3 separate regions of the Homo sapiens genome follow, and all the other regions are linked to region 2. Evidence: promoter capture Hi-C in human tissues and cell types (Jung and others, 2019). All regions are on one chromosome and are shown on one strand. Each heading gives the region's core, a stretch centred on a gene start or on the middle of the fragment in contact. The rest is flanking DNA. Distances are from core to core; before and after follow the strand shown. Region 1 overlaps LOC124900969 (a long non-coding RNA gene). Region 2 holds the start of PLCXD3 (phosphatidylinositol specific phospholipase C X domain containing 3). Region 3 overlaps PLCXD3 (phosphatidylinositol specific phospholipase C X domain containing 3).

Region 1 (2,700 bases), core at 185-2,684, 220 kb after region 2:
ACTAAGGAATGGTCAATAAGGAGGATGAAAACCAGTAGAGAGTGGTGTCTTGAAAGCCCAGTGAAAAAAGCACTTCAAAAAGAAAGGAAATATGTGATTTATCAGGTTGAATGCTGCTGAAAGGACAAATAAAATGAGGATTGAGAATTTGACCTTTGGATTTAGTAACTTGAAATCATTGTTGACAAGAGCATCTTTACTAAAATGATAGAAACAAAGACACAATTTGAGTGGGTTTAAAAGAGAATGAGAAAGGAGGAACTAGAAGTGACTATATGCCATATTTTTTAGGGGTTTTGTGGTAGAGGAGAGCAAAGAAATGGAGTGATAGGCTACAGGGAAAAATAGGGTAAAGAGAGGGTTTATTTGAGATTATTAAAATAATAGCATATAAGTAGATGAATGAAAATAATTCAACTGGAGAAAAAAATTGATGATGCAAGAGAGGAGCATTTCTGGAGTAATATTCCTGAGAATGTGAGAAGGCTGGAATCTGATAAACAATTGAAGAGGCTGTCCTTACTAGGAACACGGACACCTCATCTACAGCAAGAGGAAAGTGAGTATAAGGGTGAGGATGCCAGTTGGTGGATAGATGTGGTGTGGGAACTTGTGGACCTCTTCTGATTGCCACAGTTTGCTCAGTGAAATTGAAAGCAAATTTATCAGCTGAGAGAGGAAGAGTGAATTGTTGTTGAAGGTAAGCAGAGGGCTAAAAGGGTATTAGTCATCTATCATCCTTTTTGTTTTCTAGTTTTCATTAATTCTAAGATACCTACCTCCATCTCATCTACCCCAATTACCAATGCTGAATGGTAACCAGAGTAGGAGAATTCAGGGAGTGGTATCACAATGAATAGAACCTGGTTATGCAAATGACTGCCCAGTCAATTCCACTATGTCCCATGGGGCCCTTGGGATGGGGCTAAAACTAGGCTCTGTTCCTATCACTTAAAAGCTTTGTAGAAGATGGGCACAGTGGCCCATGCCTGTAATACTGAAAGTCTGAGGCAGGCGGGTCACTTGAGCCCAGGAGTTTCAGACCAGCCTGGGCAACATAGCAAGACCCCATCTCAGAAAAAAATCTTTGGGACCAGCTTATCCATCTTTTTGTCCAATCCCAGCAGCTCAATAGACACCAGATCAAGTCTACGGGTGAGGGGTAGGACGGAGCCTCTTTTGTTGCTTGGAATGTCTGCTTCAGAAAAAGCTGAACCAGTTTACTCTGGTAGGCATCCAGGAATTCCGGACACCGTGATGATGGAAGATGCACCCAAAGTCATCTTCCTTCCCTCCAAGCATCTACCAGATAAGCATGAGTTAGAATATCATGCCCTAGGAAATTCAAAGAATTGAAAAAATATTGCTTGCTTTCTTCCCCTTTCCTCTGCCCTCTATTTTTCATTATATTCTTTCCCAGATACATAATCAGACACTCCTTTGCATATGCAAGAAAAAGGCCTAAATTGGGAACTACACTTTACCTTCTGTTGTGAAAAAAGTAAATCATAGTATTTAGAATGCCTTGCCTGTATAAAGTATATAAATTTTATACATGCATTATTTCATTTAATAGTCACAAAAACTTTACCAAAATTGGATACTAAGTAAAGTTCTAGTGTCCAATTTTGGTAAAGTTTTTGTGACTGTTAAATGAAATAATGCATGTATAAAATTTAAATACTTTATACAGGGAAGGCATTCTAAATACTATGATTTAGTATGACTGTTTACTAATTATTTTGTATAATTGTATACTAAGTATCCAATTTTATAAATAAAGAAACTGAGTTTTGGGGATTTTAAATTATCTATTCAAGTTTACATGAGCAAAAGATGGCTTTAACCCAGGATTTGACTACAGATCCCATGATCTTTGTACTAGACTCCATTATAATTGCCCATCTTTCTCTCAGCCATTTATCTCCCTCCCACTATATTAAATCAATAAGATTCTAGATGACCTTAGTTCACCTAAGCTTACAATATTCAACTAGAAATTGATCAACTGTGGCCATATAGCATATTAAAGAAGGATTCTAAAGATTTTAGTCAGTCGAAACAGACTCTTCATCAGTAAAAATAGAGAACTAGTATCTTTTACTAGTTACTAATATGTTTAAAGAAGATTTAAATTTCCCTAAGTTATAGAATTCTGGAGAATCTGTAACCCAATATTCAAGTAGAAAAGTAATTTCTTTAATTTCCAATACCTTAGAAATTAAAGAAGGTTACCAAGGGCCCCACAGACCAGAAAAACCAGGTAAATGAGTTTAGGTAAAGAAAAAATAAAAGTAAAAACTCAAGGGATGGTGTGTGGAATGAGAAACTGACATTTATCAAGCTTTCTGGTTATTTTGAACATGTTATTTATTTCAACCTTGATAACCATGCAATAAAAGGAGCAAGGCCTCCTAAAGGATAACAATGTTCTCAGCATTACAAAATCTCTAAGTAGAATTTAAACCCAGGACTGCCTGATGCCAAAGCTCATGATCTTTGCACTAAATATAGAAGTTATAAGAAAGAAAAAAAGTTATTCTATTTTTTCAAGACTCCTGAAATACTTACCAATAGCAAAATGGTTACAATAAATGTATTTAAGCCAAAAACACAAAGTGGCCTGAAACAGGTCAGACCATATGAAGTCTGTACCACCCTCTTTCTGCAACTGCTCTCAGCCATCTTTATTGATTTGAT
Region 2 (2,700 bases), core at 11-2,510:
TTAAATGGATTTACTAACCTTGAATAATTATTCTCATGTTTCATGGCTCTCTTTGTCTCCTATGTTGATTGTCATTTCCGCAATCTAATAGCATTTCCCATAGAAAAATAAAAATTTACACAACCCTGGCATGAAAGAACAGAGGTCTGTTTATTGCATTTCCATTTCCTGGGTTGCAAAAGCCCAGCACACTTTCAGTTCATCTCTTATAATTCCTATTCAGGCCACTGCTGCTCTCATTACATTTGTAAAACTTCATCTCTCTCCTTTTACTCATCTGAGAGCAGGTGGACCCAGACAGTTCTTTGGAGGCCCAGTGAGTGATTTCTCTTGAGAGAGGCACATCTTTCCAGTCTGCAAAGGAATGAAAATGCAGACAGTCACATAGATCACTTTGAATGGTGCCAAATACATTCCACCAAATGCTACTGGCAATAATTAGAGCATGTCACTGGGAGATGTGGCGATTTTCTTCCAGCATAAGGCTCCAGTCTTACCCTGAGTGCCATGAAACTGACAGGACAGAGGCAGTGTTCTCCATGGAAATAATGTAGACTTCTCATGATCTGAGAAAAGAAGGGGGAGTAGCATTTCTTGACTTTGAAATGTCTGGAGCAAGGTACCCAGGATTAAGTAGGAACCACCTAGAATTTACCATGCCCTTCACTGACTCATACTTACCAGCTATTTCACAAAGTAGGCAAAAGAGTGAATAAAGATAATCATTTTTTAATAAACAGGGTTGTGGTCTCTGGCTGAGGAAAGGTATAACCTGTTGTAGATTACAAAAAGGAAAGCTCTTTGATAAGGACGGAAAGCCCTGAAACCCAGCATGAGAAGTCTGTTCCTCAGGAGGCAATAACATCCCAAAGTCTGCTAGGATTTTAGGTTCAAGTGCAAGACTGTCTTTCATACAAACAGGACGAGAAAGTCACAGCAAAGGATCGAGCAAGCCATGGGCAAAGCAGTTGGAAAAAAATGAATAGAAAAGAAAAATAAGAAACCAGGGAAAGCTGCAGAATGGCGAGGAAAGGCAGAGACGCCTAGGAAGGATAAGACGGGAGGAGGGGGTTGGGGAGGGAGGGGAGAGCGGAGAGAGCTGAGCACGGACGTCAGGAACAAAAGCTCCAGCGGAGTCTGGCGGAGGCACTAAGGGAGCACGGGGTGTTTTGAATAATTATTAAAATTAGCATGTGTCTGCGCCATCCTGTGGGTGTGGCGCAGAGAGGAGTGTAAACTCTAGCGGGGCTAGAGCAAACATTGGATTAGCGGCAGCAGCCTGCCAGCCTGCCCGAGGAGTGCTGGGACCAGCGCGCTGCACGCCGACTGGCACGATGGCCTCGTCTCAGGGGAAAAACGAGCTGAAATTAGCCGACTGGATGGCAACTCTGCCGGAGAGCATGCACAGCATCCCCCTCACCAATTTAGCCATTCCAGGTAGGCGCGCAGGGGCTGCGGGCTAGGCGCTCGGCGCCCGCTCCACCTGCCCCGCCCTGCTTTATCTGCCACTAAGTGGTAACTTGCCACGATGCCCGCGGGAGGGAAACTCGTCTTCCAGGGTGGGTCTCAGGCCAGGCGAGCGCGTGCCGGGTAGCCTTGGGCTTCCTGGCGTTTTCCAAACCCCTAAGGACCGAGGCGCTAGAGTCAAGGTGACTGCTTTTCTCCTGGGCTTTTGAAGCAGGTTGTATGCGGAGGACTGGGGCAGAGGAGAAGCTGGGCTCCAGGATGGTGCCTCGTGACCCCCTCCTATGGTTTCTCCTGCAGATTTGGGGAAGTGGGAGAAATCTCTGGGTCTGCGGGGTGACCGTGTGTGAAGAACGCGAGCTAGTGTCAGGGGCTCGCCTTCGGTGCAAGGACCTGAGTCTATCCCTGGCATGGAATTGGGCGGATTTGATAGATTCTCGGCTACAGTCATTAATATTCGTCCCCAATCTCCTTTAAAAAGACAAAGCGCTTCCCGAAGAGTGATGAAAGTTCAGGGACCAGAGGCGGCGTGATAGCTGCCCTTGAAAAGGAGCCCAAGGGGGCGACGGGCAGAGGGCACCATTTCGTATCGGTTTGGACCCCGGGGGACCTGGCCGAGTGGCCGCTGTCTCGAGTCTGGTCCAAGTGCGTGTTGGCAACACACTTCGCCCAGGTCAAAAAAGCAAACCCTTGCGGACCGTATGTTTACTGCTCGGGACAGAAGCTGGGCAGGGGAACCTGCGTGACCTGAGCGGAGGGGTGGGATTAATAGGCAAATAGTACGGAAAAGGTGACTGAGAATGTGTCCAGACAGTCTAGAAGGAAAGAAGCGTGGACAAAGCGAGGAAGAGACCTGAGGGATCAAGAAGCTTCAGCTTGATGTGTGCGACTTGGACCAGAGACTGGGCAGGTTTCTAGGGTGGCAGCTCCTAACAACCCCCTAGATCAGGTATCCAGGAGTGAGGGTCGTTTCAGGACAGTTTACAACAATGACAGCTGGGACACGGCCATACTTTATTGTCAATTTGGCTATGCAGTTGGGCTGGGGGAGCACACACTTGATCTTTTCAGAGCTGGGCTGGAGGGCAAATTACTCATGAACAGTTCACTTCTGGCCCTGAGCTGAGCTGGGCTATTAAACTCAACGTTATGGTCTACCTCCTCTTGATCTGCCCCATCCAGCGCCCCCTCTCAGCTGTTGGAGGAAAACATAATAAAGAAAAAAACAACAAAAAC
Region 3 (2,700 bases), core at 178-2,677, 150 kb after region 2:
TGCCAAACCCATCTCCAGGCAACCTTTGTGACAATTTCGTATCCTTTGGTGAAGGAATCTAAGGCAAATAGGATTTTCTGCTGGCAAAATAGCATGGAAAAAAATTTTACTCTTTGATTACCAAAGAAAAATACATGCACTCACTTTTGCTTATGGAAACATGAGGACACAGGGGTCTTAACACTGATTGTAGTGAAGGATCCTGAAGAGACTGAGGGTGAGAATTCTTATCCTTGAACAGGGTTTCTCAGCCTCGGCAATATAGACATTTTAAGCAAGGTAATTCGTTGCGGGAAGCTGTCTTGTGCATAGTAGGATGTTTGGCAGCATCCATGGCCTCTACCCACTGGATTCCAGTAGCACCTTCCCCTGAGTTATGACTGAAAAAAATGTCTCCAGTTATTGCCAAATGCCCTCCCCCCATGCCCACCCCTGGAGGAGGATACAGAGTTGACCCTGGCTGGAAACTGGTGGACTAGAGCTGCCACTGCACAAAAAATCTTGTGACAGTCATTTACTTTTGCAGATGCTCTATTTCTTTACACATTAAACAGATGATACCAACTGTCCAGGGATTAGAGAAGCATAAAATACTTAGAAATATGGCATGTTTTTCATTTAAACAAATATGACAAAGCTTACACATTTTTAGTGTCTACTGACACCTGCATATTAGTCACCTTGGGAATTTACTCATTTATCCAAGTGATACTGAAGCAATTTTAAGAATAATTTTAGTCAGGGATAAGTCCTTCTCCTTTCAGGATAAATTGCTTTTTGAAACAAGCTAGGCTCATTCAAGTTTAGCAGATAAGGTAAGTGAGCAAAGCTAATGAAGGCTCTTTGGAGTCAAAATCTAGGTGAAACAATAATGAGATGGATTTTTCTTTCCTCATGAACAGATACTAAAGTCAATTTCAATAAAGGAGTCTTAAAAAGATTCGGAGTCATTCTGTCATTGATGGGATAAGTGAACAGTCATCTCCATGGGTAATAATTCTGAATGACAGCTCATCTTCAGCTTATAAGTATTGGGATGTCAGTTAAAAAAAATTCCACTACTTTAGAGTCATCTGTCATAGAATAAGATAAGAGAAAATATCCTGAATTCTTGGAGAAAGTCTTTTTAAAAAAATATATTATTATCTGTATTACTTGGATCAAGCAGTAGATATTTACAGAACATTTACTGAGTGTATGCTAGTGACTGTACTTTAAAATGATTAGGACATAGCCCCTTATCCTCAACATGGTTACCCTGCAGTGGGAGAGACAAATTAATAAACGGTTTATTTCCACATCATGTGGTAACTTCTAAGATAAGTCAAAATCAGTTATTTACCTGGTTTTTCAACCCAGCGCTGCCATGTACCGACTAACTCTGTAAGCCAGGAGAAGTCATTTAATTTCATCTGCTTTCAGTTTCCTTATCTGAAAAGGCAGTTGTCCCCTCTTCTAGCATCATTATGCTGATTCTGTGGTAACAATGACAGTTTCTATGGACATATGTACTATAATATGTTGTAAAAAAAAATCTGATCATATGATGTCTAAATACTAAACACTAGTTTCATTTGAATTATTACCGAAACAGGAAGAGATGCCAAAGTAGACATTCATGAACACTAACTGTTGAGAGAGATTCGACTTGTTACTGGTAGTTGATTATTAAAGAATGACCCTAAACCAAGTGAATTGCCCTTATTTCTTCTTCCTGGACTACGCAGCACTATAATAAACTACATGGTTGGTTGATCAGGAGTTGCTGTATCCCAGTAAAATAGCAAGCAGTAAAAAGCGAAATAAAATGTCTACATTTAAAACTTAACTCATAAATCTTTTGTAATTTAAATTATTGTGTTATTTTAAACAACAGGAGTGACATCCACAAACCTAAGGTGAAGTTTGTTTAACTTTCAAGGTGTCGGTTTCTGATTTTAACATTCTCAATTGTAAAATGAAGAGATTGGAATTAGAACTAATATTTTTTGCATGACTATAATAGACATATTATTTATGTTCTTATTTCAGTCCTCCTAACAACTAAATGATGCAGATATTTTTATTTCTATTTTACCTATGGAAGAAATGAGCCTTAGCCAAATAAACCAACTCACCTAGCCTTGCACAGCATCTGTGGCAGAGCTAGGATTCAAACATGTGTCAGTCTGATTTCAAAGTCTCTGTTGCTTTTTTTCACCCCCTACACATCACTCCATTTTTTGAGTTGTCTCTGATGAAGATCTGAAATTATATAATTCTTTTCACAGTGACTCAAAAAAGTAATATGAAAGTATCACACATTTTCTAACTACAAAATGAAAAAGAAGAAAATGTTTGTCTACTTCCAAATTCAGGGACAAACAAAAGTCCTGTCAGATGAGTAGCTTTTTACACGTAAAAATGGCTTCCAAAGAGTGTCACTGATTCTTGCCCAGAATATTTCTAAATCCCCAAAGCTTCAGGGATAGAGCAAAAACCAATCCAAATTTCAGGTTATCTCTCTTGGTCAATGTACTAACTGACAGGCTAACATGAAAGTAAGCGTGGTGGTCTAGTTGGTGGCCTGCCCAAAGAGCCACTTTCTATATCTCTAGTTTTGTTTTTAACTCTCATCTGTGAGAGCTTTGATGATTCAAGAGTTTGTATATTAAAATTGTGATAATTAGTTCAATATTCAAGCAGTCAATGAAGTAAAAT

The links. Contacts are between HindIII fragments. The study calls those that stand out against the background at their distance.
Region 1: a fragment that was not itself captured here is called in contact with the fragment with the promoter of PLCXD3 in region 2 in 2 of the 25 tissues and cell types used here (H1 embryonic stem cells and dorsolateral prefrontal cortex).
Region 3: a contact is called between a fragment that was not itself captured here and the fragment with the promoter of PLCXD3 in region 2, in 3 of the 25 tissues and cell types used here (heart left ventricle, hippocampus and mesendoderm cells).

The regions. Positions count from the first base shown.
Region 1 is chr5:41,291,676-41,294,375 of GRCh38, reverse strand. All of the region lies in intron 1 of LOC124900969 (a long non-coding RNA gene), which reads right to left. All of the region lies in intron 1 of LOC102723740 (a long non-coding RNA gene), which reads left to right. Among named protein-coding and RNA genes, the nearest start is that of C6, 79 kb to the right of the region's middle. The HindIII fragment of the contact is 3,537 bases long and covers 1-2,700 here.
Region 2 is chr5:41,509,161-41,511,860 of GRCh38, reverse strand. PLCXD3 (phosphatidylinositol specific phospholipase C X domain containing 3) reads left to right here and starts at 1,260. Exons shown (of 3, transcript NM_001005473.3): 1 at 1,260-1,437. The coding sequence starts at 1,335. RefSeq lists an enhancer at 906-1,734. The HindIII fragment of the contact is 4,804 bases long and covers 1-2,700 here.
Region 3 is chr5:41,361,813-41,364,512 of GRCh38, reverse strand. All of the region lies in intron 2 of PLCXD3 (phosphatidylinositol specific phospholipase C X domain containing 3), which reads left to right. Among named protein-coding and RNA genes, the nearest start is that of PLCXD3, 150 kb to the left of the region's middle. The HindIII fragment of the contact is 6,132 bases long and covers 1-2,700 here.